Regions from separate parts of the Homo sapiens genome. Here region 2 is linked to region 1. The links are contacts of gene promoters, found by promoter capture Hi-C in blood cells and fetal thymus (Javierre and others, 2016). All regions are on one chromosome and are shown on one strand. Each heading gives the region's core, a stretch centred on a gene start or on the middle of the fragment in contact. The rest is flanking DNA. Distances are from core to core; before and after follow the strand shown. Region 1 holds the start of SLC4A11 (solute carrier family 4 member 11). Region 2 has its middle 11 kb from the start of OXT.

Evidence for each region. The method cuts DNA at HindIII sites, captures the fragments that hold promoters and counts their contacts. A CHiCAGO score of 5 or more calls a contact.
Region 2: a fragment that was not itself captured here is called in contact with the fragment with the promoter of SLC4A11 in region 1 in 1 of 17 cell types (naive CD4 T cells); the score reaches 6.1 in naive CD4 T cells.

Annotation. Positions count from the first base shown.
Region 1 is chr20:3,236,825-3,242,342 of GRCh38, reverse strand. SLC4A11 (solute carrier family 4 member 11) reads left to right here and starts at 3,153. Exons shown (of 20, transcript NM_001174089.2): 1 at 3,153-3,248; 2 at 4,755-4,799. The coding sequence starts at 3,206. RefSeq lists silencers at 2,904-3,063, 3,164-3,343. The HindIII fragment of the contact is 32,660 bases long and covers 1-5,518 here.
Region 2 is chr20:3,058,257-3,063,774 of GRCh38, reverse strand. No RefSeq gene overlaps it. Among named protein-coding and RNA genes, the nearest start is that of OXT, 11 kb to the left of the region's middle. RefSeq lists enhancers at 3,659-4,158, 4,159-4,660. The HindIII fragment of the contact is 3,419 bases long and covers 1,847-5,265 here.

The DNA of each region.
Region 1 (5,518 bases), core at 1,904-4,403:
TGGGCTCAAGGGATCCTCCCATCTCATCCTCCCTAGTAGCTGGGATTATAGGTATGTGCCACCGCACCTGGTTTACTTTTTGTTTTTTGTTTTGTTTTGTTTGTTTGTTTTTGAGATGGAGTCTCAGCAGTTTCAGTGGTGTGGTGGGGACAAAAGACAGGTATGAGTCGGTTGAAGAGACATAGCGGGAGGGGCATGGAGCTCTGGAGAAACTTCCTCTTAAATGTAGCTGAGGGATAAGGCAGCACCCGGAGGGCAAGGGGCTTTAAGGGAAATTTTTTTTTTTTTTTTTTTGAGATGGAGTCTCGCTCCGTCGCCTGGGCTGGAGTGCAGTGGCACGATCTCGGATCACTGCAACTTCCACCTGCCGGGTTCAAGCAACTCTCCTGCCTCAGCTTCCCGAGTAGCTGGGACTACAGGCATGCGCCTCTATGCCCAGCTAATTTTTTTGTATTTTTAGTAGAGAGGGGGTTTTAGCATGTTGGTTTGCCAGGATGATCTCCATCTCTGGACTTTGTGATCTGCCCACTTCGGCCTCCCAAAGTGCTGGGATTACAGGCGTGAGCCACCGCGCCCGGCCGGGGAATGTTTTGTTTTTAAAATGAGCCCTTTTTTTTTTGAGATAGGGTTTCTCTCTGTCACCACGGCTGGAGTGCAGTGATGCAGTCTTGGCTCACTGCAGCCTTGACCTCCCTGGCTCAAACAATTCTCCCACACCAGCCTGCTGAGTGGCTGGGACCACAGGCGTATGCCACCATGCCTGGCTAAGTTTTTGTAATTTTAGTAGAGACGGGGTTTCACCGTGTTGCCCAGGCTGGTCTCGAATTCCTGAGCTTGAGCAATCCTCTCACTTCTGCCTCCCGAAGTGCTGGGATTACAGGTGTGAGCCACCAAGCCCGGCCTAAAAATGAGATGTTATACATTTACTTCAGACCCCAGATTCTACAATCCACAGGCAAGATAAGTGGCATCAGGGGAGGACAGCAGAAAACTGTTAAGTGCGCCTTGTGGAACCCAGCGGTTACAGTTTCAAGTCCACAGCCCAGTAAAGTCTGAGACCCCAAGGGAGGGAATGAGAGGGAAAGTGGGTGCCTGCGTCTGGGTCCCTCAACCTGCCTGCCTATGTAAGGACCCAGTGGGGCACAGGACAGGAGATCTGGGGCACCAGTATTTGCCTTCAGCGTCAGACGATCTACACAGGACAGGAGGCAGGTGGGAGGACTGAAGGAAACAGCCTCTGAAACGGTCAGTCTGGAGGCAGCAGGCGTGTGGGCCTCAGGGGTTCCCTCCAGGAAGGCCGAGGGAACAGAACCGCAGGGGCAGAGCACAGGTGTAGCAGAGAAGGGCTCAGTGCCAGTTCCTTTGAGAGACGGTCAGGGAGCGGACAGAGGGGGCCCATAGCCGACTAGGGGCGGCTTGGTCATGGGCTCCTCTTTCCTCAGTGGGCTGAGGGGTTAGGTCCTTTGAGGAGCGCTGAGGAGACTGTGGTAAGGGGAAGCGCCCTCCATCCCAGAGGCTTTCCTGGAACAAGTGGGTTGGAAGGACCAGGTGTTTGGGAGCTGCTGGGAGCAGGTGCAGAAGCCAAGGCATTCCCAGATGGGGGAGACTGGGGGTGGCAAGGTGGCTTTTCAGGGATCCAGCCTGCATGCCACCTATGCAGCCATGCTCCGGGGGCGACATCCGCCTGTGTCCTTCAGCTCTTCCTCAGCCTCCACCCGCCACCCGGGAGTCAGTGCCTGGACTGGAGCTCTAGCTGGAGGGCGTCTAGGAAAGGTCCCAAGGGGTGCGCAGGATGACCTGGTGTCTCTCCAGAGTCACCCCTGCTAAAATACTATGTGGCCAGCCCCAAGTCAGTTGCAGGTCATGGTGTTGGGATCTTCCACAAGGCCTCCTGGAGTCGCGCTGGGGGAGGGTGGGGTACTCAGTCTGTCGCAGAGCCCCAGGCCATCCGTCGCCAAGAGGAGCACTCCAGCGCTTCCCTCCTAATGCGTTCTTATCTTGCCGGGAGGAGAACTGGGCCAGCCTTACTCACCCAATCTATGCATGAGGCTTCCCCAACGCGCCAGAAGCCCTTCCTTCGCAGAGGTGGGCTTGCCCCGGCCTGTCCCCGTTCCTCTACCATGGTTAGGGCACAGTGGCCGAGGACTCCGTCCCAGCGCGGCTGAGCCGGAAAGCGATGGCGGCCGGAGGGGTCGGGAGGTTGGTTAGCGCTTTACGGAGCTGCGTGTTCCGTTTCCAAGGGCTGTAGAGCCTTCTACTGGGAGCCACCGTGGATCAGGCCAGGGGTTCGTCAGCTGCATTTGCCGGATCGCATCGCAGCACGCGCACCCACACGCGCACACGCCCTACTCGCAGGAGACTAAGCGCCCCGAAAAGGCGCGTCCCCGGGCGGGTCGCAGCCGGTCCAGGAAAGGGGACAGGGCGCAAGGGCCATTTGGGGAAGGAAAAAGGGGGCGAACCATGACCTTGACCTCATAGAAGGCCGAGGACGTGAAGAGGCTGGCAGATAAGTTGGCGAGGCTCGCAGCGAAAACCCAAAGCAGCCGAGCTCGGAGAGCGCCGTCTCAGCGGGCGAGGGCGTAGCCCGGGGAATGCACGGAGGTCCGTCTAGTCAGTCGGGGCGCGCTTCCTGGAGGAGGAGGAGAAGGACTTGCGGCCGGAGCTACCGGGATAAATGCAGGAGGCGGGGCAGCCAGCGGGCGTGGCCCTGCGGAGGTCCCCGGTCGAAAGGAGGAGACAGGGGCCGGCCGCGTACTTAAAGCGGACGCGGGGGAAGCCCTCCCGGGGTCTGCCTCAGTCGCACAGCTCGGTGGGCTCGTGGCGCAGTCGAACGTTTTCCCAGAAGCTCCCCGGCCCCGTCCAGCCCCTAAACTCGCGACGCTGGGTCTGCTGGGTCCGGCGCGCACAGGCTCGAAGGAGCCGGGTCTACTCGGTTTGGCCCAGCAGCTGCGGGCGGCGGGGAGCAGCCCAGCCCGGCTGGAGCAGCCTCCCGCGGGTGAGGGCGCGGGGCGGGCGGCCGGGTCCCAGCCCTCGGCAGCTCTGCCTACCGCGCCCGGGCGCGGCGTCTGAGCGGCATTAGGACCCAGGCGCGGCGTGGGGGTGTGTCGCCGGCTCCCGCCGCCGGCCCGCCCGAGTCGCCGAGTTTGGGGTCCAGAAGCGCCGGAGCGCCGCGTGAGGAGCCCGGCCGTGAGTGCGCGAGTGTGCCATGGCCGCGGCCACCAGGCGCGTGTTCCATCTGCAGCCGTGCGGTGGGTGCCTGAACCCGGGGGCGCGGCGGGAAGGCCGCCCGGGTCTCCGCCACCGTCTCCCGTCGGGGACCCCGGGGAGAACGCGGATGCCGTCTGCCTGCGCGGGCCGGGGCCGGTGGGCGAGAGGGCTGCGGGATTCCCAGCCGCGGGGAGGAGGGCGCGGGTGCGGGAGGCCCGGGCGCGGCTTCGCGGCCACCGCGCGCTTGGTTTCATTAGGGCTCTGCTGTCGCCGTCTTGAATTTCTTACCAGGTTTGAACAGCTGATGCAGCGGGTCGAGGGCGGGGAGCTCGAAAGTGGGCAGGGCGGAGCTGTGGGGCTCCCAGCGCCCCGAGCGCCGAGCTTTTGGGAGCCTGGCGGGCCGCCGCCTCGGAAGGTCTCATTTTACCTTCCGCCCGGGCATCTTCCCGTCCGGCGCCGCGGTGGGAGCCCCGGAACCCCTGGAGTTTTGGGAGTCCCGGGACCCCTGACCGTGCCCTGCGCGGCCGCAGCGGTTTCTCCCTTGCTCTGACACGGGAGGGCCAGCCCTGGGTCCCCGCCAGGACCCAGGTTTGTACGACCCTTTACCTGCACGTGGGCCGCCGGGACGGAAGCGGAGTGTGCACCGGCCCAACCCTCCCAGACCCTCGTCGCCCACGGCCTGGGACGCGCCCCAGCGCCCCCGCCCCCCACTTCAGGATGCAGCCCCGGCTCCCGCCCCGCGCCTGCATTCACATCCTGCGCCCCGACCCCCGGGGTCTCCGAGTCTGGAGGCGCTTTCCTCTCGTGCACGCGGCCCCTCCTGTCGCTTCCTTCCTCCGACAGCGAGGCACAAACAGCCGGGACCATCCGGGGACCGGCCCAGGGAGGGCGCAGCCTCCCCCGACCCATGTGTCCCTCAGATACTCCTCCCACCCCCAATTGTTCTCCCTTTTGGACCAACGGCTCTGGCTTCCAGGCGGCCGGGACGCGGTCCCAGGACTGGAGACCGTTGCCTGTCGGCCCCCGTGTGACCCGGGGCGCGTGACGGGGGTCGGGGGAACTGCGCCTGCAATGGGCGTTTATGGCCCCCAGGACCGGTCTGAGAGTGAGAAGAGGGATGTGCAGAGAGATCCCCCGCCTTGGCATCCGAGGAGAGAGGGGGAGAGGCCCGCTCGGGCCCGGTCCCTTCCTCTCGCTGCAGCGGGGCAGGGTTTTCTCAGGAAAACCTGGATTAGCGAACATGGTACTGGTACTAACTCGGTGGGAAGACATCCCTGGAACGTCTCTCCTCCTCGCCTCTGGCCCGCCTGGGCAGCCCCTAGCAGATGGGCTAAGCAATTGAATTTCTGAGATTAAGGCTGGCTTCCCCTGCTATGGGGCCCCCTCCCGAGCACTGTCCCCTGCTTCCCTTTCTCCCTAGGGTGGCGTGGGTTGCATCCCTCGGAAGAGCGAAGGAATGAGCCAGGTCGGGGGGCGGGGAGACAGGTGCACACAGGAGGTCCAGGGCTTGGTCCATGGGGCTGGTGACCTTTCTGCTTCCCTTGCAGAAAACTCTCCCACCATGTCGCAGAATGGATACTTCGAGGATTCAAGTGAGTACCTCTCGGGGAGTGTGTGTGTGCAGAGAGAGCTTGTCGGGCAAAAGCCTCCAGGGTGCATAGCCTACCCACCAGAGTCCTGTGGCTTTGCTCGCCTATCTGGGCCACTCTAGTGCTGGAATGCTTTTGGCTTCCACTCTTCGGGAAGCTAGACATGGGCGGATCCCCCGTGGACCTGAGAGGGCAGGCTGCCCATTCTCCTGGGCTACTTGGACCAGGTGAACCCTCTGGGATTCTTACCCAAGGTTTTCTGTGACAATGGCCTGTTATCTGACTAGCCTTGGGCCAAGAATTCTGTGTGCCCCTGTCCCTCTGTCCTCACCCAGCCCTGGAGGGAATATCTGTCGTTGTCTCTTTAAAGAAATATAAGGCCTCTGTGCTGCAGTCCCTCGGGCACCTTCCTGCTGTCCCTGCTTGTACCAGTCCAGCTGTCTTCCTCCTCATGTCTCTGGGCTGGCTTCAGGCTGTGTCCTGTGCCTAGCCCCATGAGTGACCTGACCATTCGAGGGTTGTTTGTAGAGCAGTGCGTAGACACAGGGCTGATGTTCCCTTACCCAGAGCCCTCAGGACATGGGGCTCTGTGTGCTAGGCTGCTGGTGGGCAGGTTACGTATGGGGCTGGGACTAGGACTTGGCATTGCAGGAGCCCCCCAGGAACCTGGTAGTGTCAGCTGGGCAGGTCCTTAATCTAGGGGACCTGAGCACTAAGTCTAA
Region 2 (5,518 bases), core at 2,307-4,806, 180 kb after region 1:
GTGGAGGGAAGGTCAGCAGATAAACACCTGAGCAAAGGTCTCTGGTTTTCCTAGGCAGAGGACCCTGCGGCCTTCCGCAGTGTTTGTGTCCCTGGGTACTTGAGATTAGGGAGTGGTGATGACTCTTAAGGAGCCTGCTGCCTTCAAGCATCTGTTTAACAAAGCACATCTTGCACCGCCCTTAATCCATTCAACCCTGAGTGGACACAGCACATGTTTCAGAGAGCACGGGGTTGGGGGTAAGGTTATAGATTAACAGCATCCCAAGGCAGAAGAATTTGTCTTAGTACAGAACAAAATGGAGTCTCCTATGTCTACTTCTTTCTACACAGACACAGTAACAATCTGATCTCTCTTTCTTTTCCCCACATTTCCCCCTTTTCTATTCGACAAAACCGCCATCGTCATCATGGCCCGTTCTCAATGAGCTGTTGGGTACACCTCCCAGACGGGGCGGCGGCCGGGCAGGGTATTTATTTATTTATTTTTTGAGATGGAGTCTCGCTCTGTCACCCAGGCTGGAGTGCAGTGGCCCAATCTTGGCTCACTGCAAGCTCCGCCTCCCGGGTTCACGCCATTCTCCTGCCCCAGCCTCCTGAGTAGCTGGGACTACAGACGCCTGCCACCACGACTGGCTAATTTTTTTTGTATTTTTTAGTAGAGATGGGGTTTCACCGTGTTAGCCAGGATGGTCTCCATCTCCTGATCTTGTGATCTGCCCGCCTTGGCCTCCCAAAGTGCTGGGATTATAGGTGTGAGCCACTGTGCCCGGCCTTTTATTTTATTTTTTAGAGACAGAGTCTCACTTTGTTGCCCAGGCTGGAGTACAGTGGCACGATCATAGCTCACTATAACCTCCAACTTCTAGGCTCAAGCATGCGTGTCTTCTTTTGAGATATCTATTCAGATCCTTTGGCCACTTTTTTTTTTTTTTTTTTTTTTTTGAGACAGTCTCGCTTTGTCACCCAGGCTGGAGTGCAAAGGCATGATCTTGGCTCACTGCAACCTCTGCCTCCCAGGTTCAAGCAATTCTCCTGCCTCAGCCTCCCGAGTAGCTGGGATTACAAGCGCACACCACCAGGCCCGGCTAATTTTTTGTATTTTTAGTAGAGACGGGGTTTCACCCTATTGGCCAGGCTGGTCTCAAATTCCTGACCTTATGATCCGCCCACCTCGGCCTCCCAAAGTGCTGGGATTACAGGCGTGAGCCACCGCGCCCAGCCCTTTGCCCACTTTTTACTGGGATTGTTTATGTTTTTGCTGCTGAGTTGTTTGAATTCCTTGTATATTCTGAATATTAGCCCCTTGTCAGATGAATGGTTTGTAAAGATTTCCTCCTGTTCTACAGGTTGTTTCTGTTGATTGCTTCCTTTGCTGTTCAGAAGCTTTTTAGTTGACTGTATTCCCATTTGTCTATTTTGTTGTTGTTGTTGTTGTTGACTGTGCTTTTGAAGTCTTAGCCATAAAATCTTTACCTGGACCAACGTCCTGAAGTGTTTTCCCTATGTTTTCTTCTAGTAGATTTATAGTTTCAGGTCTTATGTTTGTCTTTAAGCCATTTTGAGTTGAGTTTTGTACATTGTGAGAGATAGGGGTCTAGTTTTATTCTTCTACCTATGGATATCCTGTTTTCCCAGCATCATTTATTAAAGAGGATGTTCTTTCCCCAGTGTTTGTTCATGATGCCTTTGTCAAAAATCAGTTGACTGTAAACACATGGATTTATTTCTGGATTCTCCAGTCTGTTCTATTGGTCTGTGTCTATTTTTATACCAATAGCCTGCTGTTTTGATTACTACACCTTTGTAGTAAATTTTGAAGTCAGGTGGTGTGGTACCTCTAAGCTTTGTTCTTTTTGCTCATTATTGCTTTGGCTATTAAGTATCTTTTGTGGTTCCATACAAATTTTCAGATTGTTTTTTCTATTTCTGTGAAGAATGTCATTGGTATTTTGATAGGGATTGCACTGAATCTGTGGATTGCTTTGAGTAGTACAGTCATTTAACAATACTCTTCCAATCCATGAGCATGGGATGCCTTTCCATTTGTTTGTATCCTTTTCAATTTTTTTTCTTTTTTTTTTTTTTTTTGAGATGGAGTCTTGCTCTGTCGCCCAGGCTAGAGTGCAGTGGCACGATCTCGGCTCACTGCAACCTCCGCCTCCCAGGTTCAAGGAATTCTCCTGCCTCAGCCTCCGGAGTAGCTGGGACTACAGGCGCCTGCCACCACGCCCGGCTAATTTTTTATTTATTTTAGTAGAGATGGGGTTTCACCATCTTGGCCAGGCTGGTCTCGAACTTCTGACCTTGTGATCCACCCGCCTCAGCCTCCCAAAGTGCTGGGATTACAGGTGTGAGCCACGGCGCCCGGACTTCAATTTTTTTTTATCAGTGTCTTATAGTTTTCATTGTAAAGGCCTTTCACTTAATTATTAGTAATTAAGTTTTGGGGGGGTCAAACGTTATATGTGAATTTTCTAGTGTGCAGGGTTTTGGCATCCATAGCCTCCACATTCTTCAAGGATCAACTGTATTTTGTTGAGGATTTTTGCATCTATGTTTATCAGGTATATTGGCCTGTAGTTTTCTTTTGTTGTTGTGTGTGTCCTAGTCTGGTTTTGGTGTCTGGGTAACGCTGGCCTCATAGAATGAGTTAGAAAAAAATTCTCTTCAATTTTTAGGAATAGTTTGAGAAGAATGGGTGTTAGTTCTTTATAAATTGGTAGAATTCCACAGTAAAGCCATCTGGTCCTGAGCTTTTCTCTGTTGAGAGACTTTTAATTATTGATTCAATGTGGTTACTCATCATTGATCTCTTCAGGTTTTCTATTTTTTTCCTGGTTCAATCTTGGTAGGTTGTTTGTGTCCAGGAATTCATAGATATCCTCTAGGGTTTCCAATTTGTTAGTGTATAGTTGTTCATAATAGTTTCTAATGATCCCTTGTATTTCTGTGATATCAGTTGTATGTCTCCTTTCTCATTTCTAATTTTATTTGGGTCTTCTCTCTTTTTTTCTAGGTTAGTCCTGGTAGTGGCTTATTGATTTTTTTTTTTTTTTTCTCACACACCAAGCACAGGTTTGTGGATTTTGTTTATATTTTTTAAAAAACAAGTTTTTATTTCATTGACCCTTTGTTTCCCTTTTTTAGTCTCTATTCTGTTTAGTTCTGCTCTGATCTTTATGTTTCTTTCCTTTGGGTTTGGTTTATTCTTGCTTTTCTAGCTCCTTGAGGAGCATCATGAGGTTGTTTACTTGAAGTCTTCCTACTTTTTTTGATGTAGGCATTTGTTGTTATATAGTAGGCTATTAATGACTGTTCCAATAATTTTGGCTTCCAAATGATTGGAAACTGAAAGCATGCAAGGCCGGTGTGGTGGCTCACACCTGTAATCCCAGCACTTTGGGAGGCAGAGGCAGGCAGATCACCTGAGGTCAGGAGTTCAAGTACAGCCTGGCCAACATGGTGAAACCCCGTCTCTACTAAAAATACAAAAATTAGCTGGGTGTGGTGGCGGGTGCCTGTAATCCCAGGAGGCAGAGGTTGCAGTAAGCCAAGATCGCACCATTGCACTCCAGCTTGGGCAACAAGAACGAAACTCCGTCTCAAAAAATAAATAAATAAATAAATAAAAGCATGCAGGATATCAGTCACTTATAACAGTCATTTTTTCCCCAATTTTATGGAATTGCATGGAATTTTTTTTTCATCTATTCATTTTCAGTCTATGTGTGTCTTTACGGGTGAAGTGAATTTCTGATAGGCAGCATACAATTGGGTCTTTTTTTTTTTTGGACAGGGTGGTGGTAACAGCAATCTGTTTGGGCCAGTCCCCAGGCCCCTGGGTGGCGTGCTGGTACTGACTGGCAGCAGCAGGCTGGGTGGGCCAGTGCCTGGGCCTCTGGGAGATGCACACAGGAATCAGTGGTAGGCAAGGTGGACCTGTCCTTGGGCTCCTGGACAGTGTGCATGTGTGGCATGCACACCAGTGGCAGTGAAGTGGGTGGATCAATCCCTAGGTCTCTGGACAGTACACATGGACGGCAGCAGTAGGTGGGGTGAGCCCATCCTCAGGTCCCTGGAAGGCGTGCATGTGTGCTGACAGTGCAGGTCAACCCCCAGACCCCTGGATGACATGCATGGGTACTAGCATTGACATCAGTAGGTAGGGTGGGACCCTTAGGCCCCTGGATGGTGCACACGGGTGGTGATGGTGGTGGGCTGGGCAGATTGAATCTCAGGCCCCTGGATGATGTGCACAGGTGCTGGCAGCAATGGTGGTGGTGAAGGGCAGGGCAGGCCTGTTTTCAGCCCCCCAGATGGTGTGCATGGGCACTGGCAGTGGCAGATAGGATGGATTGATCCCCAGGCCCTGGAAGGCATGCTCGGGCACCAGTGGCAATGGTGGTGGGCAGGGCGAGCCTGTCCTCAGATGTCCTCTGCACCTGCAACCGATGTGTGGGCTATTTCCACACAGCCAGTGGAGTGGGAGAGAATGGTAGCCCCACCAAAGAAAAATAATTCATGACCAGTATTTTTTCAGTTTTTTTCCCCCAGCTTTATTGAGGTATAATTGACAAATAAAAATAGAGTATACTCAGCCGGGCACGGTGGCCCACGCCTGTAATCCCAGCACTTTGAGAGGCCAAGGTGGGCGGATCACTTGAGGCCAGGAGTTCAAGACTAGCCTGGCCAACATGTTGAAACCCTCCACTAAAAATACAAAAATTAGCTGGGCATGGTGGTGGGCGTCTGTAATCCCAGCTACTTGGGAGGCTGAGGCAGGAGAATTGCTTGAACCTAGGAGATGGAGGTTGCAGTGAGCCGAGATCATGTCACTGCACTCCAGTCTGGGTGACAAGAGCAAAACTCTGTCTCAAACAAACAAACAAACAAAAAAAGTATATATTTTCTCACACTTGTAATCCCAGCACTTTGGGAGGCCGAGGTGGGAGGATCACCTGAGGTCAGGAGTTCGAGACTAGCCTGGCCAACATGGTGAAACCCCTCTCTACTAAAAATACAAAAATTAGCCAGGTGTGGTGGTGCACACCTGTAGTTCCATCTACTCAGGAGGCTGAGGCAGGAGAATTGCTTGAGCCTGGGAGGCGGAGGTTGCAGTGAGCCGAGATCACTCCACTGCACTCCAGCCTGGGTGACAGAATGATACTCCGTCTCAACATAAAAAAGGAAAACAAACAAACAACAACAACAAAAAACAAAAAACAAACCCAAGGGACTTCTGATGTGAGTATCCACTGAAGCTTACTACAGGTCCACATAGCATTCTGGTTAACTGTGGACATCTTGAGTACCAGTTCTACTGGATCTACTGGATCATAAGGCCCAAAGTACAGAGTGGCCTGCCTTGCAACTGGATCTCTTAAGCTGTCTTCTCTTGCCCTAAATGCCCCTCAAAGCTGGCAGCACTTCTAGTCCTGACGAGCAGAACATTCAAATGTGGCCAGTGTTGACTCCAAAATTCAGAGGTTCACCATGCAACATGTCTCCTTTTTAGA